Linked DNA regions of Homo sapiens: regions 1, 3 and 4 are each linked to region 2. Evidence: promoter capture Hi-C in 16 types of primary human blood cells and fetal thymus (Javierre and others, 2016). All regions are on one chromosome and are shown on one strand. Each heading gives the region's core, a stretch centred on a gene start or on the middle of the fragment in contact. The rest is flanking DNA. Distances are from core to core; before and after follow the strand shown. Region 1 overlaps VIPAS39 (VPS33B interacting protein, apical-basolateral polarity regulator, spe-39 homolog). Region 2 holds the start of ALKBH1 (alkB homolog 1, histone H2A dioxygenase). Region 3 overlaps VIPAS39 (VPS33B interacting protein, apical-basolateral polarity regulator, spe-39 homolog). Region 4 overlaps TMED8 (transmembrane p24 trafficking protein family member 8).

Evidence for each region. The method cuts DNA at HindIII sites, captures the fragments that hold promoters and counts their contacts. A CHiCAGO score of 5 or more calls a contact.
Region 1: a fragment that was not itself captured here is called in contact with the fragment with the promoter of ALKBH1 in region 2 in 10 of 17 cell types (naive CD4 T cells, total CD8 T cells, naive CD8 T cells and 7 more); the score reaches 16.3 in naive CD4 T cells.
Region 3: a contact is called between a fragment that was not itself captured here and the fragment with the promoter of ALKBH1 in region 2, in 2 of 17 cell types (total CD4 T cells and naive CD8 T cells). The highest score is 5.0, in total CD4 T cells.
Region 4: a contact is called between a fragment that was not itself captured here and the fragment with the promoter of ALKBH1 in region 2, in 2 of 17 cell types (naive B cells and total B cells). The highest score is 6.3, in naive B cells.

What each region holds. Positions count from the first base shown.
Region 1 is chr14:77,446,184-77,453,117 of GRCh38, forward strand. VIPAS39 (VPS33B interacting protein, apical-basolateral polarity regulator, spe-39 homolog) reads right to left here. Exons shown (of 20, transcript NM_001193315.2): 4 at 5,004-5,150; 5 at 3,531-3,569; 6 at 3,110-3,174; 7 at 2,311-2,367. Among named protein-coding and RNA genes, the nearest start is that of VIPAS39, 8.0 kb to the right of the region's middle. The HindIII fragment of the contact is 415 bases long and covers 5,229-5,643 here.
Region 2 is chr14:77,701,610-77,709,522 of GRCh38, forward strand. ALKBH1 (alkB homolog 1, histone H2A dioxygenase) reads right to left here and starts at 6,414. Exons shown (of 6, transcript NM_006020.3): 1 at 6,213-6,414; 2 at 2,760-2,868. The coding sequence starts at 6,395. It overlaps SLIRP (SRA stem-loop interacting RNA binding protein), which reads left to right and starts at 6,494. Exons shown (of 4, transcript NM_031210.6): 1 at 6,494-6,599. The coding sequence starts at 6,503. RefSeq lists an enhancer at 6,048-6,377. The HindIII fragment of the contact is 1,367 bases long and covers 5,287-6,653 here.
Region 3 is chr14:77,431,091-77,438,192 of GRCh38, forward strand. VIPAS39 (VPS33B interacting protein, apical-basolateral polarity regulator, spe-39 homolog) reads right to left here. Exons shown (of 20, transcript NM_001193315.2): 12 at 6,718-6,791; 13 at 4,754-4,829; 14 at 4,169-4,303; 15 at 3,172-3,213; 16 at 2,752-2,841. Among named protein-coding and RNA genes, the nearest start is that of NOXRED1, 11 kb to the left of the region's middle. The HindIII fragment of the contact is 1,250 bases long and covers 2,792-4,041 here.
Region 4 is chr14:77,343,752-77,351,320 of GRCh38, forward strand. TMED8 (transmembrane p24 trafficking protein family member 8) reads right to left here. Exons shown (of 6, transcript NM_213601.3): 3 at 2,598-2,727; 4 at 1-72. Among named protein-coding and RNA genes, the nearest start is that of GSTZ1, 26 kb to the left of the region's middle. The HindIII fragment of the contact is 3,036 bases long and covers 2,237-5,272 here.

The DNA of each region.
Region 1 (6,934 bases), core at 4,186-6,685, 260 kb before region 2:
CTATATTTTCTTCTAGAAGTTTTATAGCTTTAACAATTAATTTACATTTAGGTCTATGATCCATTTTATTTATTCATTTTTTCATTCCCAATCCTTAGAACCTGTGAAGTATAATCCATTTTATCTGCTTTTTTTTTAGAGAGAGGGTCTCGCTCTCTCGCCCAGGTTGGAGTGCAGTGATGCAATCACAGCTCACTGCAGCCTCAGCCTCCAGGGCTCAACTGATCTTCCTGCCTCAGCCTCCTGAGTAGCTAGGATTATAGGCACAAGCCACCACACCTGGCATTATGATCCATTTTGATCCATTAATTATTATGATCATTGCCAATTCTACCAAAATTGATCTGTACATTCAAGGCAATCCCAATAAAAATCTCAACAACTCTTTTGTAGACACTGCCAAGGTGCTACTAAAATCGATATGGAAGTATAAAGGATCTAGAACAGCCAAAACAATTTTGGAAGAGAACAACATTGAAGGTTGAAAGCTTCAACAAAGTTGAAGTATCTTGATTTCAACATTTATATAATAATCAAGACTGTAGTATTAGCTTAAGGATAAATAATCCAATGAACTAGAATAAAGAGTCCAGAAATAGGCCTACACATATATGATCATTAATTTTCTTCTTATTTTTTTCTTCTTGAGACAGGGTCTTGCTCTGTTGCCTAAGCTGGAATGGAGTGGCACAATCTCGGCTCATTGCAGCCTCGACCTTCAGGGCTCAAGCAATCCTTCCATCTCAGCCTCTCAAGCAACTGTGACTAAAAACATATCCTGCTATAAGATTATAAGTTACATTTATATATTTATAATTATAAATTATAATATACATTTATATTATAAATTAGCCACACCTGGCTTTTTTTTTTTTAAGATGGAGTTCCGCTCTTGTTGCCCAGGCTGGAGTGCAATTGCACAATCTCGGCCACCAGGTTCAAACGATTCTCTTGCCTCAGCCTCCTGAGAAGCTGTGATTTACAGGCATGTGCCACCACGCCCAGCTAATTTTGTATTTTTAGTAGAGACGGGGTTTCTCCATGTTGGTCAGGCTGGTCTTAAACTCCCAACCTCAGGTGATCTGCCTGTCTTGGCCTTCCAAAGTGCTGGGATTACAGGCATGAACCACCGTGCCCGGCCGCACACCTGGCTAATTTTTTTTTTTTTATCATTTGTAGAGACACGGTCTCACTATGTTGCCCAGCCTAGTCTTGAACTCCTGGGCTCGACAGATCCTCCCACCTTGGCCTCCCCAAGTTCTGGGATTACAGGCATGAGCCACTGTGACTGGCCCGATTTTCAACAAAAGCATCAGCAGGATAATTCAATGGGGAAAGGATAGTTTTTTCAACAAATAGTGCTGGAACAAATGGAGATCTACATGGGGAAAACAATTAAACTCAAACCCTTACATCACACCATATGCAAAAATGAACTCAATGAATCACAGATCTAACATAAAAGATTGTTCTCACTCTCTTTTTTTGGGCAGGGGGGCGGAGTTTCACTCTTGTTGCCCAGGCTGGAGTGCAGTGGCACGATCTCAGCTCACTACAACCTCCACTTCCCAGATTCAAGTGATTCTCCTGCCTCAGCCTCCCGAGTAGCTGGGATTACAGGTGCACGCCACCACGCCCGCCTAATTTTTTGTATTTTTAGTAGAGATGGGGTTTCACCATGTTGGCCAGGCTGGTCTAGAACTCCTGACCTCAGGTGATCTGCCTGCCTTGGCCTCCCAAAGTGCTGGGATTACAGGCGTGAGCCACCATGCCCGGCTTCTCTTTTTTTTTTTTGAGACGGAGTCTCACTCACCAGGCTGAAATGCAGTGGTGCAATCTCAGCTCACTGCAACCTCCACCTCCTGGGTTCAAGTGATTCTCCTGCCTCAGCCTCCCGAGTAGCTGGGACTACAGGTGCCTGCCACCACACCCGGCTAATTTTTTATATTTTTAGTACAGATGGGGTTTCACCATGTTGGCCAGGATGGTCTTGATCTCTTGACCTCGTGATCCACCCTCCTCGGCCTCCCAAAGTGCTGGGATTACAGGCGTGAGCCACCACCCCTGGCCCTGGCCTCTCACTCTTAAATGTACTTTTCCCTCTCATCCATCACTCTTTCCCCACTACCCCATCAAAGCAACAGTAATGGAGAATCAGAAATTTTGCCACTGACTTTCAACCTTAGTGGATTTATTTTCCCCCTGAAATTCATTGAACAAATGAGAACTGAAGAGAGGTCAAGAAATCTTCCCTGTGTGAACAAGCTGCCCAGCTTCCCAAAGAACCTCACAAAAATTCTCTGTCCTTACCTTGCCCTTCCGGAGACGTCGCACTGTATCACTGGGGCTCCAGTCATTGCTGTAATCCTGGAATATTAGCAATACGTGAATCCCAGGAAGTTAAGGAATCAAATTTATCAGCATACCCGCTCCTCAACTCAAACTCAGTCTTAGTGTCTAAGGGGGAAATAATTTGTGGGAGGGAATGGATGTGAAAAAAATGAAGAAATGGGACGGTTTTGTTTTGAGTTTCTGAAGGAACTAGAGCAGGGGCAATATAGATAGGAGGAGATGGATCAAAGAGGGAGGAGCCAATTGACAAAGCCAGTAGCCCCATGCCTACCAGTTCAGGACTGCAACCTCTAGATGAATTAGAATCACGTTTTAGGATTCTAACAATTAATGCCTTTGGCCAACAGAAGGAAAGAGAGAGATGTTGGAGACATGTTCCTTTTCCGACCTTAGGATATGGTTTCTTCCTTATGAATCAATTTGCTTTATTTGTTTCATGGGAATATGAGCTCTACCAGGCTTCCAGACTGCAGTGATGATCACTGGGTTTCAAAGTACAGCCTTCAAGTGGGAGCATAATGAGTAAGCAAAGTATGGCAGAGCTGAGTCAGAATATAGAGATTATAAGTCTAAGTTGCACCCTTTCCCAGCTCTGAGACCCCAGGTAAGCCCTCATGTTTAGAAACCCAGTTTTCTAATCTATAAAACAGGGTTAAAAAAATATCTACTCAAATAGTTGGGAAAATCAAGCCAGGTAACATATGTCAAGGTACTTTATACTGTGGAAAGTGTCACACCAGTGTATGCTGTAACTCACCCTATACTCCCCTTTGGGTCTCCCCAGCTCTGGAGCATAGCTTTTGGCAGGTGTGTCTGACAGAGCTGAAAAAGAATAAGCAGCTGGTTCAGAAGGGCACCATGAATCCTGCTTGTCATTCCTTCCCTCTACTTCTTCGTTCTCACATTTTTTTGACTTGTGGGCTCCCAATGTTAACTTTATGGCCAAAAGCAGATCTCCGTTCTTCCCCAAAGACAGCATCCCTAGAAGTCACCTTTGCCCCTGTAGCTAGAATGATTTCTACCTCCTTAGTCAGTATCAGAAAATTCCTCTAATAATGACAGTAGATGCAGAAGAAAGTTCATCTTGTCATCTAATTACTACCTGTCCCCATAACTCCCCAGACTGTACCAGATCAGTAACATTTCCCACAGCAATTAAAAGAGGGTTCAATGCCTACCATCAGAAAGGGACTGGAAACTTCCAGGTCTAGTTCTACCTAAAGGTAAAGAACACAAGAGGGAAAAGGTCAACAGTTTCAATCAGAGCCATCCAGGCTTGGTTAAAGACACAATGTGTAACCAACTCAATAACGCAATATAGGAACTTAAGGCTTAAAAAAGGTTTTATTCATCTGTAGAAATCTGAAGTGCCATTAAAAAATGGAGCAGGGAGAAAATTTTTTTTAATTATGGTAAAATATACATAACAAAATTTACCATTTTAACCATTTTTAAGTGTATAAGTCAGTAGCATTAAGTACATTCACACTGTTGTACAACCATCACCACTATCCATCTCCAGAACTTTTTCATCATCCCAAACTGAGACTCTCTACCCTTTAACCAACTCTACACCCTTTAAACAATAACTCTCCATTCCCTCCACCCCAGCTCTTGGTAACCACCATTCTACTTCCTGTCTCTATGAATCTGACTATTCTAGGTCATACGTAAATGGAGTCATACAATATTTGTCCCTTTGTGCCTCATTTTATTTAGTATCACATCCTCAAGGATCATCCATATGGCAGCATGTATGGGAATGTCGTTCTTCTTTAATGCTGAGTAACATTCCGCTGCATGTATATGGCACATTTTGTTTATCCATTCATCCATCAATGGACATTTGGGTTGTTTCCATCTTTTGGCTATTGTGAATAATGCTACTATCAACATGGAGGTACAAATATATGTTCAAGTACCTGCTTTCCATTCTTTTTGAGATATACCCAGAAGTAAAATTGCTAGATCATATGTTATTTATTTATTTATTGAGATGGAGTTTTGCTCTGTCACCCAGGCTAGACTGCAGTAGTGCAATCTCGGTTCACTACAACCTTTGCCTCCCAGGTTCTAGCAATCTGCCTCCCTCAGCCTCCTGAGCAGCTGGGATTACAGAAGCCCCCACCATGCCCGGCTAATTTTTGTATTTTTAGTAGAGACGGGGTTTCACCATATTGGTAGGCTGGTCTAGAACTCTTGACCTCAGGTGATCCACCTGCCTCAGCCTCCCAAAAGTGCTGGGATTACAGGCGTGAGCCACCACGCCTAGCCAGTTATATGTTTACTGTTTAATTTTTTTTAAAAAACCACCATACTGTCTTCCACGGTGGCTGCACCATTTGGCATTCCCACCAACAAGGTTTTCCAACAGCAATGCACAAGGAGTAGGGAGGAATTTTGATCTAGGCAAATTTTTTCAGTACCAGTCACAGGGTTAATGTCAATTTCATTCATCATGCTATAGAAAACCAGTCCAACTCCTCTGAATTTCTCTCATTTATCTCGCTCCTAACACCCAGCTGCCACCTCCAATGAGAATGCTTTACCCTTCAATAATCTTTTTCTTACAAAGTAAATGAAAATTATGGCCTAAGATTTTTCTGGAAAAAGAGAAGGACTTCCCTATCCATTTAAGCATCTCTCTTTACCTCTAAAAAAGCTGCTCAGGGAGTAGGTAGAAGTAGGCTTGGGTAGTTGTGCATAGGAGGAGAAGCTGTTTCGGCTCTTTAGCTGTTCACGCCCCTCGTGGGTTGAGCCGCTATTACCAGCAGTCTCTCTGATGGACCATGAGATACCTGTGAGATAGTAAGAACTACATCAGCAATTCTCATCCACAATAAAGCCTTGACATCCAACATTCAATAAACTCTAAAAGCTTTTCACCAGAAGCCCTGGTCCCTTGGCCAACTTGGGGCAGGGAGAAAAGATAGAATCAAATAGACTAATCAGCAGAAAAATGGACCAAGGACATGAATAGGTGGATCACAGAAAATTCAAATGGCTCTTCAACATATGAAAAGATGCTCAACCTTACTCTTTTTTCTCTTTTTTTCTTTTTTTTTAGAGACAGGGTCTCACTACATTGCCGGAGCTCTGGAGTACAGTGGCTATTCACAATCATATCTAACAGTCATGTCTCACGTCAGCCTCAACTCCTGGCCTCAAGCCATCCATCGCCACTACCCTCCAGAGGCACACACCACCTGCCCCCAGCTTTGCTAAGAGTACTACAAATTAAAAATATAATGAGAAACCATTAGTCCCCTATAAGATGGGGAAAGATCCAAAAGCTTGATAATACCGTGTTAGCCAGGCTATAGGGAAACTGGAACCCTCCTCCATTGCTGGTGGTAGTATGAATTGGTACAACCCCTGTGGAGGTCAATTTGGCAATATCTACCCAATACAGATGCAAACATCCTATGTGAGTAATTCCACTCTAAGAATTGCTCTTTCATTTATGCATCTATGGTCAGAATATAAAGTCAATGATAGAAATATAAAGAGCAAAAGATTGAAAAATCTAAAATTCAACAGTGGGCTGGCTAAAAAATGATGGTAAACCCATACAATTTAATACTATGCTGCTATTTAAAAAAAAGAAAGAGAAAATGAGAACACTCTTTATATACTGACATGGAAAGATCTCCAAGCTATATTAACACATAAAAAGAGCAAGGTATGAAGCATGCTACTGCTTGTGTAAAAATGGGATAAGAATACATGTTTCTATATACTTTTCCAGATGCAAAAAGAGTCTTTAGATGAATACACAGGAACCAAGCAACGATTGTTTTTTGGGAGGACATGAACTGAAAACTGAGAAGATACATAACAATATGGAACGGAAACTTTTCACTGTAGACCTTTAATTTTTTTTTTTTAATCTTTAGTCACATTATAGTATGGCCTATTTTTTAAAAACTTTCAATTAAAAATATTTCTTAAAAATCAGATGGGGACCAGGGATGGTGGCTCATACCTATAATCCCAGCATTTGGGAGGCCAAGGCAGGCGGATCACTTGAGGTCAGCAGTTCAAGACCAGCCTGGCCAACATGGTAAAACTCCATCTCTACTAAAAATACAAAAATTAGCCAGGCATGGTGGTTGGCACCTTTAATCCCAGCTACTAGGGAGGCTGAAGCATGAGAATCGCTTGAACCTGGGAGGCGGAGGTTGCAGTGAGTCAGGATCGCGCCATTGCACTCCAGACTAGGCAACAGAGTAAGACTCCATCTCAAAAAAAAAAAAAAAAAAAAATCAAATGGACTCTGAAAAAGTATTAAGTGGTATCATATACAGCTAAGCAGTGAGACTTGGTGGGTAAGGAAGTCCGTTCTGTCAATCAGTTATTAGTATACTGAGTCAAGTCAGTAGTTCCCAAATATGGCTATATATCAGAATCACCTGCAGTGTTTATTAAAATTTGAGACCCCCTCTACTCCGCAGAAGACCTAATGAACAGAATCTCTGGGATAAAGCCTAGGAGTATGTCATTTTAACAAGCACCCCAAATGAGAATGAAATAGCCAGCTAAGAGTCAACCCCTGAAGAGCAGACCTATATAGCCATGTGGG
Region 2 (7,913 bases), core at 5,164-7,663:
ACAGGTTGTAGTATACTCAGCTTCCTTCAGATTAAGTCAGATCCAGAAGTAAACACAATCCTTTTGATCAACTCAGAGTAAGAAGAGACTGTTCTCTCCTGTATTTTGGACATTATATTTCTATTAAATACAGCTTATAGGGGAAAGTAAGTAAAAAATAAATAAATAAAATAAACACAGCTTATAATGGCAAGAGAGACAGAATAAACTCTCCAAGGATATAATGGGACACCCACCCAAAAGATGTGGCTTAATTAAGCAGTAAATCCTAGAAAGCCTCAGAAAGCAAGTACAGCAGTTTAGACAATTTAAAACTCAAGTGGGGTTAAGTTTGTGGCATGAACAATCTGTTAAGGGGAGAAAGCCTAGAGCAACAGAGAATCATGGCCTTAAAAATAGGTACTAGAGGCCGGGCGTGGTGGCTCACGCCTGTAATCCCAGCACTCTGGGAGGTCAAGGCAGGTGGATCACCTGAGGTCAGGAGTTCAAGACCAGCCTGACCAACATGGTGAAACCCCATCTCTACTAAAAACACAAAAAAGTTAGCTGGGCGTGGTGGCGGGTGCCTGTAGTCCCAGCTACTTGGGAGGCTGAGAGAGGAGAATTGCTTGAACCTGGGAGGCAGAGGCTGCAGTGAGCGGAGATCACACCACTGCACTCCAGCCTAGGCGACAGAGCAAGACTCTGTCTCAAAATAAATAAATAAATAAATAAAAATAAGTGCTAGAGTTGAAAGGTGAGGAGCGGCCTCCAAGAACAAGACTATTGGTGATGCATGCTCTACATTTACCCAAACTCAAGAGGAGCCAGGCTGTTATATCTTCCCAAGCTATTAACAAGTATTTCGGTGGTCATAACGTATTAAGAGCTGTACCATAGAGTCCTGGCCATTGGCACAATGAAAACTAACATTTCTTTTTAAAGATTTCTCTTACTTTTAACCCATATTTGAAATCACAAGTGCAATGTTAACTTTTACAATGGCCCCAGGAGCCTAGAAAAAAGGTTAATAACATTACCTATTCTTCATTATTTTCTTAATTTCATTCTCTGTAAAAGCAGCTACCTAACATTACTAAATTTAAAATTGCAGACGAATCTATTCTGCAAAATGAGATGGGTCTCATTTTGTCACCCAGGCTGGAGTGCAGTGGCACGATCTCGGCTCACTGCACCCCAAGCAATCCTCCTACCTCAGTCTCCTGAGTAGCTGAGACTACAGAGGCATGCCACCACACTTGGCTAATTAAAAACATTTTTTTTGGCCAGGTGAGGTGTCTCACGCCTGTAATCCTAGCACTCTGGGAGACCGAGGCGGGTGGATCACTTGATGTCAGGAGTTCGAAACCAGCTTGGCCAACATGAAACCCTGTCTCTACTAAAAATACAAAAATTAGCTGGGCGTGGTGGCATATACCTGTAGTCTCAGCTACTCGGGAGGCAGAAGAATCACTTGAACCTGGCAGGCGGAGGTTGCAGTGAGCTGAGATTGTGCCACTGTACTCCAGCCTGGGCGACAGAGTGAGACTGTCTGGGAAAAAAAAATTTTGTTTTGTAGAGACAGGGTCTTACTATGTTACCCGGGCTGGTCGCAAATTCCTGGGCTCAAATGATCCTCCCACCTTGGCCTTCTAAAGTGTTGGGATTATAGGTGTGAGACACCTCGCCTGGTCCCTATTAGGACTTTCTTTTTTTTTTTTTTGAGATGGAGTCTTGCTCTATTGCCCAGGCTGGAGTGCAGTGGCACAATCTCGGCTCAACAAGCTCTGCCTCCCGGGATCATGCCATTCTCCCACCTCAGCCTGCCGAGTAGCTGGGACTACAGGGGCCCGCCACCATGCCCGGCTAATTTTGTTTTTGTATTTTCAGTAGAGATGGGGTTTCACCTTGTTAGCCAGGATGGTCTCAATCTCCTGACCTCGTGATCCGCCCGCCTCGGCCTCCCAAAGTGTTGGGATTACAGGCGTGAGCTACTGCGTCCAGCTTTTTTTTTTTTTTTTTTTTTGAGACAGAGTTTCCCCCTTATTGCCTAGGCTGGAGTGCAATGGCGCGATCTTGGCTCACTGAAACCTCCACCTCCTGGGTTCAAGCGATTCTCCTGTCTCAGCCTCCCAAGTAGCTGGGATTACAGGCACGCACCACCATGCCCAGCTAATTTTTGTATTTTTAGTAGAGACGGGATTTCACCATGTTGGCCAGGCTCGTCTTGACCTCCTGACCTCAGGTGATCCACCCACCTTGGCATCTCAAAGTTCTGGGATTACAGGCATGAGCCACCACGCCTGGCGAGGACTTTTGATGTCATTAATTGTAATTCTTTATTAAATATGTTCAGCCTTGATAGCAACAAGTTTTAAGTTGTTATGCCATTTGAGAATGTGACTAGAGGGACAATTATGAATTATTCATAACTATTATGACATTTATTACAATGATAATGATAAATTATTCTTCACAGCACTTCTGCCAAATCAGATGTTCAGAGTTGTGGCAGGGAGCCCAGAGGCAATGTCCTTATTTTTTCAATGGTCATGCCACTTTCAGCCACATTTGCAGGCACTGCTGACTCCTGTTCTATCCTTTCAAAACGGACGTCTTAGACAAGGTACAGTCTAGAATGGGTTTGGAAATGAAACATTTATCTGTTTATTATGTGTATCCTTTGTCTATTTACTTGCTCACACACAGTACCTTCTTTGAAGACATGAAGACATAAATGATTGAGTGATATTGCCTTCTCTGAGGTCAGTTACACTCACCAGGATAGCCTTTGAGTCCATAGGCTTGCCACTTGCTGACGGGCTGAAGACCTGCTCTATATGCATTCTGCTCACTGACAGAAGACACATTTAGCTGAGATTTGATCACCTGGCAGGAAGGAAACAGAAGTTAAAGGACTAAATCTATTTTGCAGGTCAACCCCGGGAACCTCAAACCTCCAAACACATTTCTTGTATGAGGCAAAGCTAGGATTCTTGTTTAAGATACAGAACCTTGCTCTATTGCTCAGGCGAGTGCAGAGGCATGATCATAGTTCACTGCAGCCTCAAGCTCCTGAACTCAAGTGATCCTCCTGTGTTGGCCTCCCAAAGCAATGGGATTAGAGGTATATGCCACTGTGCCTGGCCAAAGCAAGGAGTATTAACTCTGGGGTTAATCTTAGCTGTACTGCTTACTTGATCTGGGCATTTTAGATGAGTCATTTAATGTCTTAGAGCCTCAGTTTCTCATCTATATAGTAACAGTAGAGTCACCCAAAATTAAGGCAAAATGGTAATAAGAAAACTTAAGCAGGCTAATTTTGGCTTTCAAAACTACTTTTTCCTATGACATCATACCTTTCCAACTTCTTATGGGGCTGAATCATGAAAGGTGCTTGGTGTACTGAAATATCTTGAGTCACAAAGCTATTTACTTCAGTTAGGGCTAACAGTAATGCTTTTGAGACACTTGTATAGAGTTGGTATTTAAACAGAGCTATAAGGAACACCAAGCTGGACAGGGTGAGAAAATGAAAAGAGAAGGCCGGTCGCAGTGGCTCACGCCTGTAATCCCAGCACTTTGGGAGGCTGAGGCAGGCGGATCACGAGGTCAGGAGTCCGAGACCAACCTGGCCAACATGGTGAAACCCCGTCTCTACTAAAAATACAAAAATTAGTTGGGTGTAGTGGCGGGCGCCTGAAATCCCAGCTACGAGAGGCTGGGGCACCAGAATTGCTTCAACCTGGGAGGTGAAAGTTGCAGTGAGCTGAGATTGTGCCACTGTACTCCAGCCTAGGAACAGAGCAAGACTCCGTCTAAGAAAAAAAAAAAAAAAAAAAAAGAGAATGAAAAGAGAGTGCTGTAAACAGACAGAAAAAATGTTGCAGTGAGACACTGGGAATCCTGTCTGCTAAAAGTAAAAGCTAAAAAATCCTGTTTGCCCTCTTCTAGATGAAATGTCCAACTGACGCTACAACTTCTGCTTCTGTTAATTACTTAGAAATGAATTTAGTATTTCAGGGGCTGAAGTTTTCTTTGTATGTGAGTATCTAATGGATGGCTCATTACATTGGTTAAGAGACCCACTATGCAGTCATTGAAGTCAAAACATTAAAGGAAAAAACCTTTATTCTTCCCTGAATAGTAAACCTAGGGTCTGCCTTGCCTTAAAATATATGAAACAGGCCGAGCGGTGGCTCACACCTGTAATTCCAACACTTTGGGAAGCCAAGGCAGGTAGATCACCTGAGGTCAGGAGTTTGGGTCCAGACTGGCCAACATGGCGAAACCCCGTCTCTACTAAAAATACAAAAATTAGCCAGGCATGGTGGCGCGTGCCTGTAGTCCCAGCTACTTGGGAGGCTGAAGCAGAAGAATCATTTGAACCTAGGAGATGGAGGTTGCAGTGAGCCAAGATCACGCCACTGCACTTCAGCCTGGGTGACACAGTGAGACGCTGTCTCAGTAAAAAAAAGTATATATATTATATATACACACACATATATACACACACACATATATATATATATGAAACATTCTCTTTGAAAGAGAATGATCTTTTATCTTATCAACTTCTCCAAGTGTGGAGATTCCTGGACAAAATACCAAAAGTTTGCTGATGTATAACCAGTCTCTATAATAAAAGGGCTATATGAAACCCTCTGACAGTACTATCAGCTGAGTTTTCCAGGTACCTAGGCACTGGTAAAACACTTTTAAGCATTTTGTCATGATTTCTTTAATAGGCCATACTTAATACTGCACTATAATTCAACACACTCTCAGAGGTGATGTTAGTGGACCTATTCTATCATATGCTAAACTGAACGACACCACTGAGCTTTTATAAAAGGTTTTCTCTTTCCTCCCTTGCCAGACTGTTAACCACCACTTTCCCCACCAGTCTCATCAGCTGGCTTGTAATAGTAACTTCTCTTAATTACTACTTTAATCTGCTTTGAGCTGAGGAACTAAACACCCAAGCTTTCATGTACTCAACACATACTGTACTTAGTACTGTTTTAGGTCCTGTACTAGACACATAATGGCTCATTCCCTGATGGCTGACATTCTAAAAAGCATGTACATATTATGGTAAAATGTAGGTAAAAGGAGCTGAATGAGAGTCTGAAGCGCTCTGGAGAGAAAAAGTATATTATTATTGGGGTGTGGACTTTCTGTATTTTGACAACTCTAAGACCACTTTTTTTCCCTAACAAATGAAGGTGCTGAAAAGCTGAGCTCAAGTATGCAATCATTAACACTTAATACTGTAGCATCCCAATTTTATCAGAGCTGTTAGGAAGCTTGGAAAGAATGCCTCATCTAGACATCTGTGGACAACACCAAGAGCAAATTAAGGGACTGCATATCCTCAACGTTAAAGTGGATTGTAAAGAAAGAAAATATAAATTGGACTACAGTTTTGGTTCCCCGTTTTCCCTCTTGCCTGTTATGTTCCCTTAAAAAAATAATTTTTAAAAAATCTATTTACTTGAGAACAGGTTATGAGACTGGCTAATTTTTTGTATTTTTGGCGGAAACGGGGGTCTTGCCATGCCCCAGGCTGGTCTCGAACCCCTGGGTTCAAGCGATCCACCCGCCTCGGCCTCCGAAGTGCGGGATTACAGGCTTGAGCCACCGCTCCCGGACTGTGTTCCCCTTCTTAATCTCCATGGGGAAAAGCTGAGAGAGAGAACGGTGCCTGTATTCCATATATACTTGTTTGCCATTTATTTTCAACACGGAGGGATTCTCAGAATCCTTCAATGACCTCCTTCTAAAAGAGCCAGAGGAGAAGACAGGGACTAGTTTTACGCACAGTGGCTTAACAAACAGCGCCGCATCCCTGTCAGTTCTGGGATTCCTCGGGAGTGGTTTTTTTTAAGCTGCAGAAGTCTACCCTACCGTCTACAAAGACGTTCTATGGGGTTTTACAAAAACCCAAACAGAAATGTGAGGAGACAGTTACAGTAAGAAATAAACACGGATTCCCAGGCTCTTTTGACTGAGCGCCCCCGCCAGGAATGGCCGCCTAAAGAAACAGGCATCTCAACGCTTTATTGCTAAGTGTGACGGTTAGTGGGGAGTTCGACTCTGCAGCCAAAGGAGGTCAGGAATCGTTCAATAACAATCGGTCTGGAGGTGAAAAGAGGCGAAGAAGACACGTAAGTCCCTCCAAGACGCGGGGCAAAGCGATGGAGAGACGCGCGCCACTCCTCTCTCTGTACCTTTTGGGCACCAGGACCCTTGCCACGGGCTGCGTGGGCCGCCGAGAAGTCGATGACCCCTTCCAGGTCTGCGGTCCCGGGCCGGCTCTGACGGTAGAAGCGGAAAAGTTTCCGAAAGGCGTCCTCCCCGGGCTCAGTCGCCAGAGTCGCCACAGAGCCCACGGCCGCTGCCATCTTCCCCATCTCGCGGCCTATACCCTCTGATCCGGAAGCAGATTCTCTCGTGTTCCGGATCCGGAAATTTTTTCCGGGGCCGCGACCTCGGCTCGAGAAGGTGCTTTAGTCTGAAGATGGCGGCCTCAGCAGCGAGAGGTGCTGCGGCGCTGCGTAGAAGTATCAATCAGCCGGTTGCTTTTGTGAGAAGAATTCCTTGGACTGCGGCGTCGAGTGAGTGATGGAGATGTGGGAGTAGTGGAATTTTTAGGTCCAAGTGATCCTCAAAGCTTCTGCTTTTTGCAGGGTACTTAAGTCAGCGTGGTGGCTGAATTAGGAGACTGCTCCTGAGCATGCAAGTGAGCAGAAAGAAATTTTGTTTGCAGTTAACCGTTTAGGGATGTCCCTTGAGCTTTTGGGGTCACGAATGCACCGGCTCTTGCCTTTAGGAGTGATTTGGTGTAAAGATTTATTACTTGGTAACCAAGATTTACAATTTAGAAGGGATAATTTTGACTGTAGTGTGGAGGATGGATTCAAGGTGGCAAGATTGTAGGCGTGCAGAGGAGCTAAAAGGCAATTTCATTAATTTACTTAAAACGTGAGGACCTGAATTAGGGCGATGGTAGAAGGATGGTGGTCAGATGCATTAATGTTTTAAAAGCAAATTAGATGCCGTTTCGTGATGGCTTAAGTGGGAGAAGTGTACGGAATAAAGGAAAGGGAGAAATGATTTCTGGGTTTTTAGCATTGGTGAATTGTTTGTTTAGAAGTTAGGAGCAGGCCAAGAGAAGATGAGTAAAGTTTGAATGTGTTGACTTTGAGAAACTTGTGAGGTTTCCGTCAGGCAATTGGACAAAGGTTGTATATCATTGTGGCTGAGAAGTGGACTCCGAAGCTAGACCGTTGGGGTTAGAATTCCAACTTGGCCATTTAATCGTTGTTATCACTTGAATAACTGAAGTTAGTATGGGAAAAGGGCTCACAACTGGGCCTCAGTTTACTCATCGATAAAATGGAGTCAATAATACCCAACTCATAGGATTGTTGAGAGGATTGAGTTTATATGCAAACTTCTTAGACTTGTGTTAGATACAGTGTAAGTACTCAGCAAATGATAGTTATTTTCACGGTAACTAAAATTGAAACTTACGGGAGAGGCCTAGTCTACAGATAAAGGTTGGAATAATTAGTTCTGAAATCTTTCACCACCTTCAATTTTTGTCAGCTGCAGTTTTGAGATGAGGTTTTTATATTTGCTTACCAACATGTAAACATTCGTGGTCACTCTTTTTGTAGATATTCATGTTTCAGGTCAACCCCTGGAAACAAAATGGAGCAAGATTTAGTTTCTTCTAAGTTTTTAGTGGCTCAGATGTGAGTAGTAGAATGGGAAATAGGTTGGTTTGTGCCCCGTGTTTTAAACATGTGGTTGGTGAAGACCAAGCCCAGTAAAGTCTCCCGTAGTCCCTGTGAAACTTTATGGAAAGGCTGAGGAGTTTCATTAGCATCTTGCGGATGCAAGTTTCCAGACAATAAAGGGCTAGT
Region 3 (7,102 bases), core at 2,167-4,666, 270 kb before region 2:
GAAAACATGGGAAAAAGCTCCTTGACATTGGCCTTGGCAATGATTTTTTTGGATATCACACCAAAGGCTCAGGCTACAAAAGCAAAAATAAATGGGATTACATCAAACTAAAAAGCTGCGCATGGCAAAGGAAACAATCAAAATGAAAGGCAGCCTATGGATTAGAATATTTGTAAACCACATATCTGATAAGGGATTAGTATCTAAAACATATAAAGAACTCACACAATGCAATAGCAGAAACAAAAATTGCCAGATTTAAAAATGGGCAAAAGACTTGAATGGACATTTCTCCAAAGAAGACATGGAAATGGCCAAGAAGTACATGAAAAGGTGATCAGTATCACTAAACATCAGGGAAATGCAAATCAAAACTATAATAAGATATCACCTCACACCTGTTAAGATGACTGTTATCAAAAAGACAAATGATGTGTTAGCAAGGGTGTGGGGAAAGGGAACTCTTGTACCCTGTCGGTGGGAATGTAGATTGGTGTAGCCAATGTGGAAAACAGGCTGCAGTGAGCTACGGTCATGCCACTGCACTTCAGCCTGGGTGACAGAGTGAGACCCTCTCTCAAAAAAGTAAAAATAAAAATAAAAATAGAACTATCATATGACCCAGTAATCAATCTTTCTTTTGGGTATATGCCCAAAATAAATGAAATCATCACCTCATAAAGATACTTGCATTTCCACATTCATTGTAACACTATTCATGAGATGTTAACTATTCATGAAATGTAACTATTATAAATTATTGCTGAGAATTTAAATATCTGTAACTTACAAAAATAATAAACAAATAAATAATTCCCTCTCCCTAAAAAATAGCCAAGATAAGGAAACAACTTAAGTGTCCATTGACAAACAAATGGATACAGAAACTATGGAACTATGGTATATATATACATACATGCTGGAATATTAGCTTTAGAGATCTAATTACAAGATGAGGACTGTAGTTAATAGTACTGTACTGTAATCAGGAGTTTTGCTAAATGAGTAGATTTTAGCTGTTTTTGCCACAAAAAAATAATTTGAGATGATAGATATGTTAATTTGCTTCACTGTAGTAACCATTTTACTCTCTACATGTATCTCATAACATCTTATCGTATAACTTAAGTATATACAATATATAATAACATTTATCTTAAAAAAAGAAGAAAGATAACAAGTGTTGGCAAGGGTATAGAGAAAAGGGACCCTGGTACACTGTTGTCGGTGGGAATGTAAATTAGTGCAGCCATCATGAAAAACAGTATAGGCGTTCCTCAAAAATGTTTAAACAGAACTACTATATGATCCAGCAATCCCACTATTGCATATAAATCCAAAGGAAATGCAATCAGCATCTCACAGAGACATCTACACTCCCATGTTTATTGTGGCATTATTCACAAGAGCCAAGATATGGAAACAACCTAAGTGTCCATTGATGGATGAGTGGATAAAGAAATTGTGGTACATATATACAATGGAATATATTCAGAACTTAAAAAATAAGGAGATCCTGACATGTGACAGCATGGATGAACCTGGAGGACATTATGCTAAGTGAAATAAGCCAGACAGAAAGGAAAATAACCTCATGATCTCACTCATGTAGGATCTAAAAAAGTCAAACACATAGAAAGTAGTTTCCAGAGGGGGAAAAAAGTAGGTCAAAGGATACAAAGTTGTAGTTATGCAGGATGAATAAATCTAGAAATCTAATGTACAGCATGAGGAATACAGTTAATAATAGTGTAGTGTATACTGGAAATTTGCTAAGAGAGTGAATTTTAGGGGTTCTTACCACACTCACAAAAAATGGCTAACTGTGAGATGATGGGTTAATTGGCATGACTGTATAATCATTTCACTATGTATATGTAGATCAAAACATTATGTTGTACCTTAAATATATACAATAAAAATTAATTTAAAAAAAGGTAAATCAGTAAAGACATGACAACCAAACTCAATCCAAGGTCTTTGATTGGATCCTGATAGAAAAAAATACAGAAGCAAACCAAAAGTAGCTATAAATAACTAATTTAAATATGGACCATGATTAAATATGTATTATTATATTAATGTTAAATTTTTTTAGTGATAATTATATTGTGCTTCTTTTTTTTTGAGACAGGGTTTTGCTCTTGTTGCCCAGGCTGGAGTGCAATGGTGCAATCTTGGCTCACTGCAACCTCCGCCTCCTGGATTCAAGCAATTCTCTCGCCTCAGCCTCCTGAGTAGCTGGGATTACAGGTGCACACCACCACACCCAGCTAATTTTTGTATTTTCAGTAGAGACGGGGTTTCACCATGTTGGCCAGGATGGTCTCAAACTCCTGACCTCAGGTGATCCACCCGCCTCGGCCTCCCAAAGTGCTGGGATTATAGGCGTGAGCCACCGCGCCCAGCCCAATATTGTGCTTACGTAGTATTAAAGGAGAGGTGTTAAGATGTCTACAACTTACTTTCAAATGATTCAGAAAAGAAAAACACATAGGTATAGAAAAAGAGAAAGCATACATGGCAAAATTGTTAATAAATTAGTGATGTGGATAAAGACTATTATACTATTATAGTATATATTTGATTATTATATGAACTATAAAATTCATTCTTTCAACTTTTCTTTAGGTTTGAAATTTTGGAAAATAAAAAGTTGGAGGAAAAATGTAAACCGGTAACTAGAACTTATAACATGATAGAACCCTTCTGTCTCCCAAGGCCTCAGCAGCACAGGGGCAGGGCACACACCTTTGTGGTGAATAGGGCATCTACATCATTCCAGGCTCGAAGCTTGGCACGAGCAGCCAGGGCTGTCAGCACATACTGTTTATCTGGGATCTGGAAAGCAGAGACCGAGAAAAATTAAGGGGAAGTAGAAATACATCAATGGGGGTGCTTAAGAATTTTAGAAAAGACAGACATTAAATATTTCCTGATATTGACTCTGCCCCTTAAAAATCAAAAAATTTCTCAGTTCAAGAACTTCTTAATTCCCAAGCCCCAGCACTGCTATAGGCCATTCAGTCTTCTCTCACTTTCCCAAACTCATTCCTTTCCACCTTTAACCTTGAATATCAAAGGACACACTGTACAGGGTTACAAAGCAACATCCACTCCATGTAGTTACCCTGATCACTAGTTTCATAACACTGACCAATTTGTATCTACCTTAAATGTCTTCTTCAGGTTGACGGGACTGCTGAATGTCCCCTAGGATGAAAGTGAAAAAGGAACTTTAGTGATATTGACTTTCCCAAGTACCACCCAAGCTCTCATTTTCTTTCCCACTACAGAGACTTTCTACATCTTACTCTGCTGCCATTTAAACATAGAAATTAATTTCAGGGAAAAGCTCCATTGGGAATAGTCAGATACCACTATAAGCTGGCTTATCAAGAACTGGAGTAATAAGTATGGTGCCTTTTCCCATTTTCTGCTAATCCAAATAAGGAGAAAATGTCTGCCTGTTATCATGGAATCCATACTTCTTTGAAAAATTTAGAAAGAAAAAAAGAGTAGCCAGGCGCGGTGGCTCTCACCTATAATCCCAGCACTTTGGGAGGCTGAGGCAGGTGGATCACGAGGTCAGGAGTTCAACACCAGCCTGGCCAACATGGTGAAACCCTGTCTCTACTAAAAATACAAAAAAAAAAAAATTAGCGGGGAGTGGTGGCGCACACCTGTGATCCCAGCTACTCAGGAGGCTGAGGCAGGAGAATTGCTTGAACCCAGGAGGCGGAGGTTACAGTGAGCCAAGATCGCACCACTGCACTCCAGCCTGGGCGACAGAGCAAGACTCCATCTCAGAGAAAAAAAAAAAAAAAGTATCCATAGCTACTTGCCACCCTACTGCTTTTCTCCACATCATGCTAATCCATTTGATATTGTGGACCTTTGAACAGAGACTTCTACAGGTAACAGCACCAGGGACAGAACTTGCTATGCTAGCATGCCAGCTCACTTGAAGCTACAAACCTTACAAACCTCTTTTCCCTCCTGGCCAGATGAGGCCCTCTTACCCCTGGTGAGGGCCAGGAAAGCTTCCAGGTGGATTTCTGAGAACTATACATACCCATTATTAATAGAGTACATAAAAGTACTGGATTTGAACTATCTTCTTTTTGTGCAATGAGAGTTTGTGGAATCTTCCATATTTTGCCTGTACCTCAGCCTCTGTGTAGTGATAGAAGCAGGAGTAGAAAAGTGTTGTCACTAGTGGCATGTTGAGGATGGAGGCTTTGCGGGGGTGCTTTCGGAAGATCTCAGTCTGTCCTGCTGATTCTAGATGGCGATCATTTGCCTGTGGTGGAGTGAGCCAAGTGAAAAAAAAAAAAAACAATGTCCATGGAGTAGAGGCAGGAGAAAAATCTTTTAATACTACAGCAGTTGTGTTTCCCACCCTAGGAGAGAAACAAAGAACAGAAAAAGAAAGAAATTGCCTAGGATATCCCCAGAGTAGTTTAAAATCCATCAAATGATCATGAATCCACATTGGATGGAAACAAATAGAAGTGGGGAGGACATGGGAGATTCGGGATGAAGAAGAAATACTTCCAGGTTAACAGCTGGTAAGAGGAAAAAGGATCCTAAAAACAATGGAGGAAGGGGGCTATTGTGTACAGGCAGAAAATGAAAGGCTTTTAGAAACCAGTAAGAAATGACCCACGTGCAGAGCATAGAAATCTCCTAGATGCTGAACGGCACTGAGCCTTGGCACTGAAGCAAAAGATATAGAGATGAAGAGTCTAACCTCAATAATGATCTGACGTTCCAGGAGCGTGTAATGGTCCTGTATGTGTGCGGAATCTTCTGCTGAAAATGGCAAACTGGTAGAGTGCCAGAAGGTTAGTACCTTTCTCTATTCAAACAAGGAAACAAACCCAACTAAACCAAATCGCCAGCATAAGTATAAGAGGCTCACGGTGCCTCACAAGTCTGATCTCAGTTCACCTTTAGAGCGTCCCTTAAAGAAAGACATCGCATGAATGGCGTGAATTTCATATTAAAGGTTTTGCCAATTCAAGAGGGATCCTGAGAGTCCACAAAATACTTATAGTCACTCATAATTTTGCTGATAAATGAATTAGAATCCTCTCATTTTGAGAGTTGGAATATTTGGTGAATGAGTCACAAAGCTAATGAGTGAGCCTAGGCAACTGCCCATCATCCACATCCCAGTGAAATTCTGTGGCTTGTGCTTAACTTACTGAGGGGACACCTAGATTTGTTAGCCATTTTTTTATGGCAGAGTACAAAAGGTAAATTAAATTACATGCCATGGTGGTATGTTTATAGATCAGCAAATATCACAAATGTCAAGGGTCCCATCTTCAACACTGCATTATGTTTTTTGTTTGTCTGCTTGTTTTGAGATGGAGTTTCTCTGTGTCACCCAGGCTGGAGTGCAGTGGCATGATCTTGGCTCACTACAACCTCCACCTCCTGAGTTCAAGCAATTCTCCTGCCTCAGCCTCCAGAGTAGCTGGGACTACAGGCGTATGCTGCCACGCCCAGCTTATTTTTGTATTTTTAGTAGAGACAGGGTTTCACCATGTTCGCCAGGACGGTCTTGATCTCCTAACCTCGTGATCCACCTGCCTCAACCTCCCAAGGCGCTGGGATTACAGGCGTGAGCTGCTGCGCCCGGCCACATTATTGTTATACATGAAGATGCTGAGGGACAGCGTCTTGCCAAAAAGTCATGTGGTCAATGGGGAAGGCCAAGAATAGAAGCCAGATTTTAAATGCCCAGTTCACAGATATATCTTTTAGAAAGTGCTGCATTATTCCCCATACTCTGCTCACTCCAGGAAGAATTCTGAGTTTTAATTACACTATTCCAGATAAGTTTTAGCCATAGTGAATTTTTAGAAGAGATAAAGAGAGATGCTATAAATTCTAGTTACTTCACTATTTTAACTTTTCTCCTTGTTTTCCAGAGGCCATATAACATATCTCAGTATTTGGTAACATTAAATGGATTTCACTGATATAATCAAATTTCTAAACATGAAGCCGGGAAATCATGTCACATGAGGAATGGTTGAAACAACCATGAGTACTGAACCTGAAGAAGCAAGGACTACTGGGTAGACTCTACACCTGTCTTGAAAGATACAGGGAAGCAAATTTCAGCTTAACGTAAGGAAGCACTTTCCAATAACGAAGGTTGTTCAAAAACAAACTGAGCTGTTTCAAGAGCAACGGGCATCCTGTCACAGGAATATGTGGAGCTGGGTTTTGCAATAAGTTAAATTCTGGATGAAAGCTTGCCCTGGATCAGTGGTTCTTGGACTTTGGGGTTTCAAGGACCAGTAACACTGAAAAAATGCATCAGGTCCCTAAAGTATTGCTATCTTTTTATTACCTAAGGTCATAAAAAAAGGTACAGCTCATTTTAGTACCAAAGAAGAAGAGAAGAGTGAGGACAAAATCCTACAATAAAAGATAACCTTTCAAATTAAATAAATTTAGCTTTAGGAAAAAAAATCTCTCTACATTTGTCTTTTTTTTTCCTCAGTTTACCATCAAGCAGTGGAAACTCTGCTGGGGACTAGTGTGTGAACACCACTGCATGAGGTGACCCTGAATGATGCTGGTATGATTCATTGTTAGCCCTCCCCTTCCTGCCTATCCATTCCACCCTTTTTAATTTTCTTCATTCCTTCTGGGTAAAGGTATTTATACTTAAAATCATTTTTCCCCCATACTTACCCAACACAGGTTTTAAGAAATTCTTTTCGTTTGTCAGGGTCCTGAATGTTCAAATGCTCTCGATAATGAGATAGCTACAAAAAGCAGAAAAAGGCTTTGAGGTATTTTGTCTCCTTAGATGAGGGAGATAGCTGATTAACTGAACTTCCCATGCTTTAAAAAAACAAATTCTTCATTTCTGGGTATAGATGGTTATTGGAGGCGGGTGGGGGGATAGGCAAAGAGTGACTAAGTATCATTAGTAGGTTTATCTATAACTGCACTGTACGATACAATAGCCACTAGCTACAACTGTTTCTTTAAATTTAAATTAATTAATGTAAAAATTCACCTCCTTAGTTAACACTAACCACTTTTAAAGAACTCAACAGCTACATGTGACTAG
Region 4 (7,569 bases), core at 2,505-5,004, 360 kb before region 2:
TATAGCTCCTGTATGTTCAGACTGGATCATAACGATGTCCCCAGACCTCTGTGGAACTTGATACTTAGCCATCTGCACAACAGAACTCTGGTTAAAGGAGTATTCGAGTGGCAGATTCTAATTAATCTCTTTTTGCATGAAGGCTGCCCCACCCCTGCTCTATTATCTCCACTATCCCCACTCAAAGCTTAATGTACTAGTCAATGTTCCTTCTCTTTCTTCCAAATAGAAGTTGCTAATAAATTCTACTAATTTTTTAAAGCCATCAAAATATTCCATTGTTTAAAGACTGTTTCCTACCTTTTGCAACTTTCCTGCTCCAAACCCTTTATAAGGTCCTTGTCCGCCAACACCCTCGCAGGTTGTTAACAGTATTTGCATTGACTGTGATTCTGGGCCATGCCTTGGTCTTACCTCACCTGCACAGTACCTCCCTGTGGCTCCTCTCATTAATAGCTCTTGCTCCTAGGGTTTAGTTTGACTCCCACTCTGCCACACATCCTCCTGCTACAATTCCCACTCAAGGGTTACTTCTACATTACTGTCAATCAGCTCTCCAAAGCACTGCAGAGACAGAATCTGGTTTATAGTCTTTCTCTCTCATCCACAGCCCACCTCGGGCTACAGATTGTCTCAGTCTTGAAGTCACTAACAGTGTTCTATCAATAGTTACAATTTCACCTTAGACCAGCCCCAGGACTTGCATTTAAACAGTACATTTGCTGCCAGACGTCTGACTTACATGGAAGAATGCAAATGGCATTTGATACTCAAAGCCCTCACTAACCCATGCGGGAGCTTACAATGTCTCCCTGGTGAGTTTCCCTTCAAATCACTCAGATTAGTGTTCCTGGTTTCATGCTATTATACCTTAATTTCTGCCCCTTCTCCAAACAGTTGGCAGGCAACTCAACAAGAAAACTATACCTATTGCCCACAGGGGAGAGCACATCAGTGAGTCAGCAATCCAGTTAAGAGGCTGGAATTGTATTTGTGAGAAATAAATAAATCAAGTTTGTAATCCTCCCAGGCTGTATTCTCATAATATCTGTTTCTGGAGAATAAGCCCTCCAGTTCTCATCTCCTTTGCTAACTGAAATGAATCAGACTTTGGCTAGCGTGCTTAAATAAATCCTTCCTTTTCTAAAATGCTAAATAAAGGATTAGGTTGCAACATATTAGCTACATAGCCTTAGTAAAGTCTCTAACAGCCCTCAGCCTCAGTTTCCTCATTTCTTTCTTTCATTCCTTTTGAGACAGAGTTTTGCTCTTGTTGCCCAGGCTGGAGTGCAATGGCACGATCTCAGCTCACTGCAACCTCCACCTCCCAGGTTCAAGCAATTCTCCTGCCTCAGCCTCCCGAGTAGCTGGGATTACAGACACCTGCCAACACGCCCAGCTAATTTTGTATTTTTAGTAGAGATGGGGTTTTTCCATGTTGGTCAGGCTGGTCTCGAACCCCTGACCTCAAGTGATCTGCCTGCCTCGGCCTCCCAAAGTGCTGGGATTACAGGCATGAGCCACCGGGCCCAGCCAGTTTCCTCATTTCTTAAATGGAGACACAATGGCACCTATCTGACAAGGTTGTTCTCAGGAGTAAATGAAGTGTTACAGATACAAATGCTTGTAAACTGTAAAGTATTATACAAATCTAATTATAACGCCTGGTGGTGTCTTCATTGACACTAATACCAACCATTATTCTAACACATATGCTAATAAATGATAGAAACAACCCCATCCCGCCCCCATCCCTCCATGGCAGGGGCACCACTACACCATCACTTCCATACAGCTACTTGGAAGGCTGAGGCAGGAGGATCACTCGAGCCCAGGATTTTGAGGCTGCAGTGAGCCATGACTGCACCATCGCACTGAAGCCGGGTGACAGAGTGAGACCTTTGTCTCAAAAAAAAAAAAAAAAAAAAAAAATCAAGGCCAGGCACAGTGGCTCACATCTGTAATCATAGCACTTTGGGAGGTCAAGGCGGGTGGATCACCTGAGGTCAGGAGTTCGAGATTAGCCTGACCAATATGGTGAAGCCCTGCCTCTACTAAAAATACAAAAATTAGCCGGGTGTGGTGGCATGTGCCTGTAATCCCAGCTACTCGGGAGGCGAGGTGGGACAATCACTTGAACCCAGGAGGTGGAGGTTGCAGTGAGCCAAGATCGTGCCACTGCACTCCAGCCTGGGCGACAGAGGGAGACCCTGTCTCAAAAAAAAAAAAAAAAAAAAGCTTCTGTGGAATCTTTATCATAAATACTAAATAGATCTACCACAAGAAAAGTAAGAGCAAAATAGTCCAATGACTTCAGGCTCCTCAATGAAGAGGATTTTAGAGAACACATGAACATTCACTCTAACACTTCGTTTTCTGAATCGGTGCCTACTGGGTGCCAGTACAATGATGGGCCCTGTGGAAGATACAAATAATCATTCTCCAAAAAATAATGAAGACCAAGATGCCCTAAATTAGAGGGCAAAGAGAGAATTCCGGGAGCCACCCTCGCAGTGCTTTCTAATTCCAACCCAACCACTATGTGTCCACATTCTGGTGCCTCCTTTCATAAGAAAGAGCCAGAATCTGCCCCCTACCTCATTGAGGACCTGGGCCTGGTCTGCAGGCAGCAAATCCTGTTTCACCAAGGCCTGAGCCTCCAAAGGACCAGTTGCTTTCCGCAGATCTTCCGTGGCATCCTTACTCACTGGAGATACCATCTGTGGCCTCTCAGAGGAAGAGAGCATGTTAATTCAAGGACTCTTTGAAAAGACTCAATCATCCTGGAGAAACTTTGAAATAAAACAACATTCGAGATACCCCCTGCCCCACCTGCCCCTGGCATTTATTTAGCTCTACTGTCACCTTAGCCGACCACTGCCCAGGGCTGAATTGGTCCACAGTAAAGTGTTGACAGTGTGAAAACAAAGACTAACAAGGCCAGGTCAAAGGCTAGGAGAACCATGGAAAACACACAGCTCCATCATCTGAGATGGACTGCTGGTCTGGTTTTTTTTTTTTTTTTTTTTTTTTGTCATTGTTGTTTCTTTTATTTATTTATTTTAGTTGACAAAGTGTATATATTTATGGTGTACAATGTGCTGTTTTGATATATGTACACATTGTAAAATGATTAAATTGAGCTAATTAACATATCCATCCCCTCACATACTCCTTTTTGTGGTGAGAACATTTAAAATCTACTGTCTTAGCAATTTTCAAGTATACATTGTTATTAACTATTGTCACCATGTTGTACAAAGATCTCCAGAACTTGTTCCTCCTTCTAACACCTTATACCACTTGACCAACATCTCCCCATCCCACCCCCTGGCCCCAACACCTATTAACCACCATCCTGCCCTCGGCTTCTGTGAGTTCCAATGTTATTCCTCACTCTGCGGCCCACAGGGCCCACAGAATTTTAACCGAGGAATTGGTAGAATCTCAGTTCAGTTCTACACACAAAGCCACTGGCTAGAAGCAAAAGGAGGAGGTCTGCCTAAGGGAGACTGGGCACCAAAACAAAGTACAAAATGATGATCAAGGCAACCCTCTCTGCAGTTATCCCTGAGGCAGTCTTTCAGCAGATCCGTTTCATACCCTGTCCCCGTTCAGTGCTAGGGGTCATCACTTTCTCTCCTTTTTAAAGCACATTAATCAACAATCCCAATGGCTTCAAACACAGCTATGTGAATAGTTGTTTGTTTTTTGGCAGAGTGCACCAGTGATGCATCTCACCACAACCTCAAGCAATTCTCCTGCCTCAGCCTCCCGAGTAGCTGGGATCACAGGCATGTGCCACGACACCCGGCTAATTTTGTATTTTTAGTAGAGACAGTGTTTCTCCATGTTGTTGGTCAGGCTGGTCTTGAACTCCCGACCTCAGGTGATCTGCCTGCCTCGGCCTCCCAAAGTACTAGGATTACAGGCGTGAGCCACCGTGCTCAGCCATGAATAGTTGATTATAAAGATGCAAGGGAATGATTTATGCTCTCTTCCATTTCCCCTGGCCTCACAAAAACTAGAAAATTAGTGCCACGGTTGTAGCAAAATAACCCAGGCCTTTTGGGAATCTGTTGCTGATAAAAGGTGACATGGATTTTTTTGAATGGCAGTTATCCAAGTATGGTCTAGGGGCCCTTCGGGGGAGTCTATGAAGTTCAAACTGTTTCATAATAACACTAAAATGTTATTTCCCTTTTTTCATTCTCATTTTCTCAAGAGTGTGCAGTGGAATTTTCCAGAGACTATATGACATGTGATACCGCAATAGAATGAACTCAGAAGCAGAGCTGAGAATCCAACTGCCTTTTATTAAGCCAAACATTAAAGAGATTTATGTCTCTCTTTGTACTACATTCTTTGCTTTGAAAATTAGTTGTTTTTAAGTAAAAACATGTTTTATATATAGCATGTCATGAGTTATTATTTTTAAATGAACAAATAACCATATTCTAATTTTTCAGTTTTAATTTCTTTTTTTTTTTGAGACGGAGTCTCACTCTGTCGCCCAGGCTGGAGTGCAGTGGCGCGATCTCAGCTCACTCAAGCTCCGCCTCCCGGGTTCACTCCGTTCTCCTGCCTCACCCTCCCGAGTAGCTGGGACTACAGGCGCCGGCCACCACACCCAGCTAATTTTTTTGTATTTTTAGTAGAGACGTGGTTTCACCATGTTAGCCAGGATGGTCTCGATCTCCTGACCTCGTGATCCACCCACCTTGGCCTCCCAAAGTGCTGGGATTACAGGCATGAGCCACCGCGCCCGGCTGTTTTAATTTCTAATATAGTAAATATTGATAGATATAACCCACACAAACAAAAATTCTTTGGGTCCTTAATAATTTTTAAGAGTATAAAGGTCTGAGAATCCCTGCTTGAGGGCATCATTTCCTCAAAGAGGTTGAGTAAATGACTGGAAAATGGTAGTATACACCTCATGGGGGAAACGGAGGCTTCATTTTAGAGTTTATTAGTTTGTTTCTTTTCTTTTTTAACATAAACAAGAAGAATCACTCCTTCAGATAAAACAGAGCCATCTTTTGGAATATCCAAAATTACTCCAACCTACCTCAGGACAGACAAGAGGAGGTCACTCCAAGAATCAGAGCTGTGGGATTCTGTTGATCTTTATAGGTTCACTTGGGTAATTCAGTGTAAGCTGTAAACTGGCCTAGGCTGTGGGTCTATTTTAATGCTCTTCAACCCAGAAATTATAGTCCATTTCTGTTTCTTGACACTGTGTATCATCTGCCTCCTCTACTAGAAAGTAAGCTTGGTGGCAGGCACTGGGTCTCACTGCCTCTGTATGCACAGCACTGGGAACCAAGCCTGCCACCTGGAACTCTAAGGCCCTTTTTTTTTTTTTTTTTTTTTGGAGACAGAGTCTTGCTCTGTCGCCCAAGCTGGGGTGTAGTGGCATGATCTCGGATCTCGGCTCACTGCAACTCTGCCTCCCTGGTTCAAGCAATTCTCTTGCCTCAGCCTCCTGAGTAGCTGGGACTACAGGTGTGCACCACCATGCCTGGCTAATTTTTTGTATTTTTAATAGAGACGGGGTTTCACCATGTTGGCCAGGGTGGTCTCAAACTTCTGACCTCAGATGATCCACCCGCCTCTGCCTCCCAAAGTGCTGGGATTACAGGCGTGAGCCACCTCGCCCAGCCCTAAGGCCCTTTGCACTCTGACCTCACCTCTCAGAATCCTCACTCTGCCCTGGTCCCTCCAGCCACAACAGCCTCTTCAATCCTTGATAGTCCTCAAACACCCCAAGTACTCTCCCACTTGAGAGCTTTTGCATTTGCTGTAATCTCTGCCTAGAATACTCTTCTAGGACATTAACTCTTCTTTAGTTAACTGAAGACTTCCTTCCTGCAGGTTTTCTGCTGAGAGGTTTCTCAGAGGTCTGTATATAAAATGTGTGCCCCTTCCTGGCCTTGTCACTGTTTCTGCCCTTACCCAGCTTCATTTTTCTTCACTGCACCTATTACTGCCTGACATGATATGGAGCATATTTTGTTGATTGCAAGATGCACACTGGCTTTTAGATTTTAACACAACTGAAAGATAGGATGTCTTAAAAATTGATGATATCTTAAAAGTGCCGTGGGCCTGGATTGACATCAACTCTTTCCACGAGAGATTTGCATTTGCTTCTGCCAGTACTTAGGAATGCTACCAATCTGAGACTTCTTGAAATTAAGTTCTCTGTTTAGGGTTTTGTTTAATCCTCCTGGCAGAGTGAATTTAGACAAGACACTGGCTAATACCAACTGGTGGTTCCTATTCTCAGGGGAGATATTTTTTCCTCCTATGACACAGTGTCAAGTTTGAGACAATCAAGCTTCCTTGCTGTCCTTTTCTGTGTGGGGGATTTTTGTCTTTATATTTTCACTGAAGGTGCAGGTTTTTGGTATCCCAGTTGCATATGGGGGGTCTATTAGATGATCCATCTTAAGCATTTCTTCCTCTCTTGGTGGGACGTGAAAGCACAACTTACAGTTGACGGCAACTTAAGAGTCTGTGAAGTATGATGTGTAATTGTTTTCTGTCCACTTCCCCCACTAGAACATAAGCTCCCTGAGAGCAGTGATGGACTATTTTGTTCATTTGTGGTTTCTTTAGTACCTAGAACAGTATCAGGTACATGGTAGGCTCCCAACAAACATCTGTTGAATAAATATTAGCCCCAAAATATTTGTTGAATAAAAAATGAATAAGTTAATTTTTGCCTGGGAATAAAAGAGAAATTCTGGATCAGACTATCATTTATAATATTGGAAAGGTGAGACTACAACAGGCTATCTGAATCATTAGCTTGACTTACTGTGTGTGACATCTAAAATTGTCTCTTTGTCTTTGTGCATGCTACTCTGAAAAAACATGGTTCTGCTTATTTAAAAAACATATTTTAAGGCTCGGTGTGGTGGCTCATGCCTGTGGTCCTAGCTACTCACAAGGCTGAGATGGGAGGGTTGCATGGTCCAGGAGCTTGAGGCTGCAGTGAGTTATGACTGCCTACCGTGCTCCAGCCTGGGCAACAAAGCAAGACTCTGTCTCAAGAAATAATTAAATAATAAAATTATGTTAAACAGGATATGTGCCACCCACATAAATTTAATATTCACAATTAGCATTTTATGCTCTGGAGAATTAGAAAAGGGCATTTGGGGAAAGATTAATTTCAAATTATTTGATGCTGGTGATAAGCCACATAAAGGAAAAGCCTCCGCTTTAAGCTTCTGGTTTGTACTGACCTGGAGCAGGGAGGCCATCTCAAAGGAAGGGGAGAGCCTGGCCGGCAAGCCAGCCTCACTAGAAAAGATAGAAAGTTGTGCCGTTTCCATTTCCAATAGACACATAAGCATAAGAAGTAAGCCTCAGGCATCACATTCACTGGATTTTTATCTTCACTCAGCAAATGTTAGAAACAAAAGTTAAAAATTAAATCCCTGGCCCGGCGCGGTGGCTCACGCCTGTAATCCCAGCACTTTGGGAGGCCGAGGTGGGCGGATCACAAGGTCAGGAGTTCGAGACCAGCCTGTCCAATATGATGAAACCCCGTCTCTA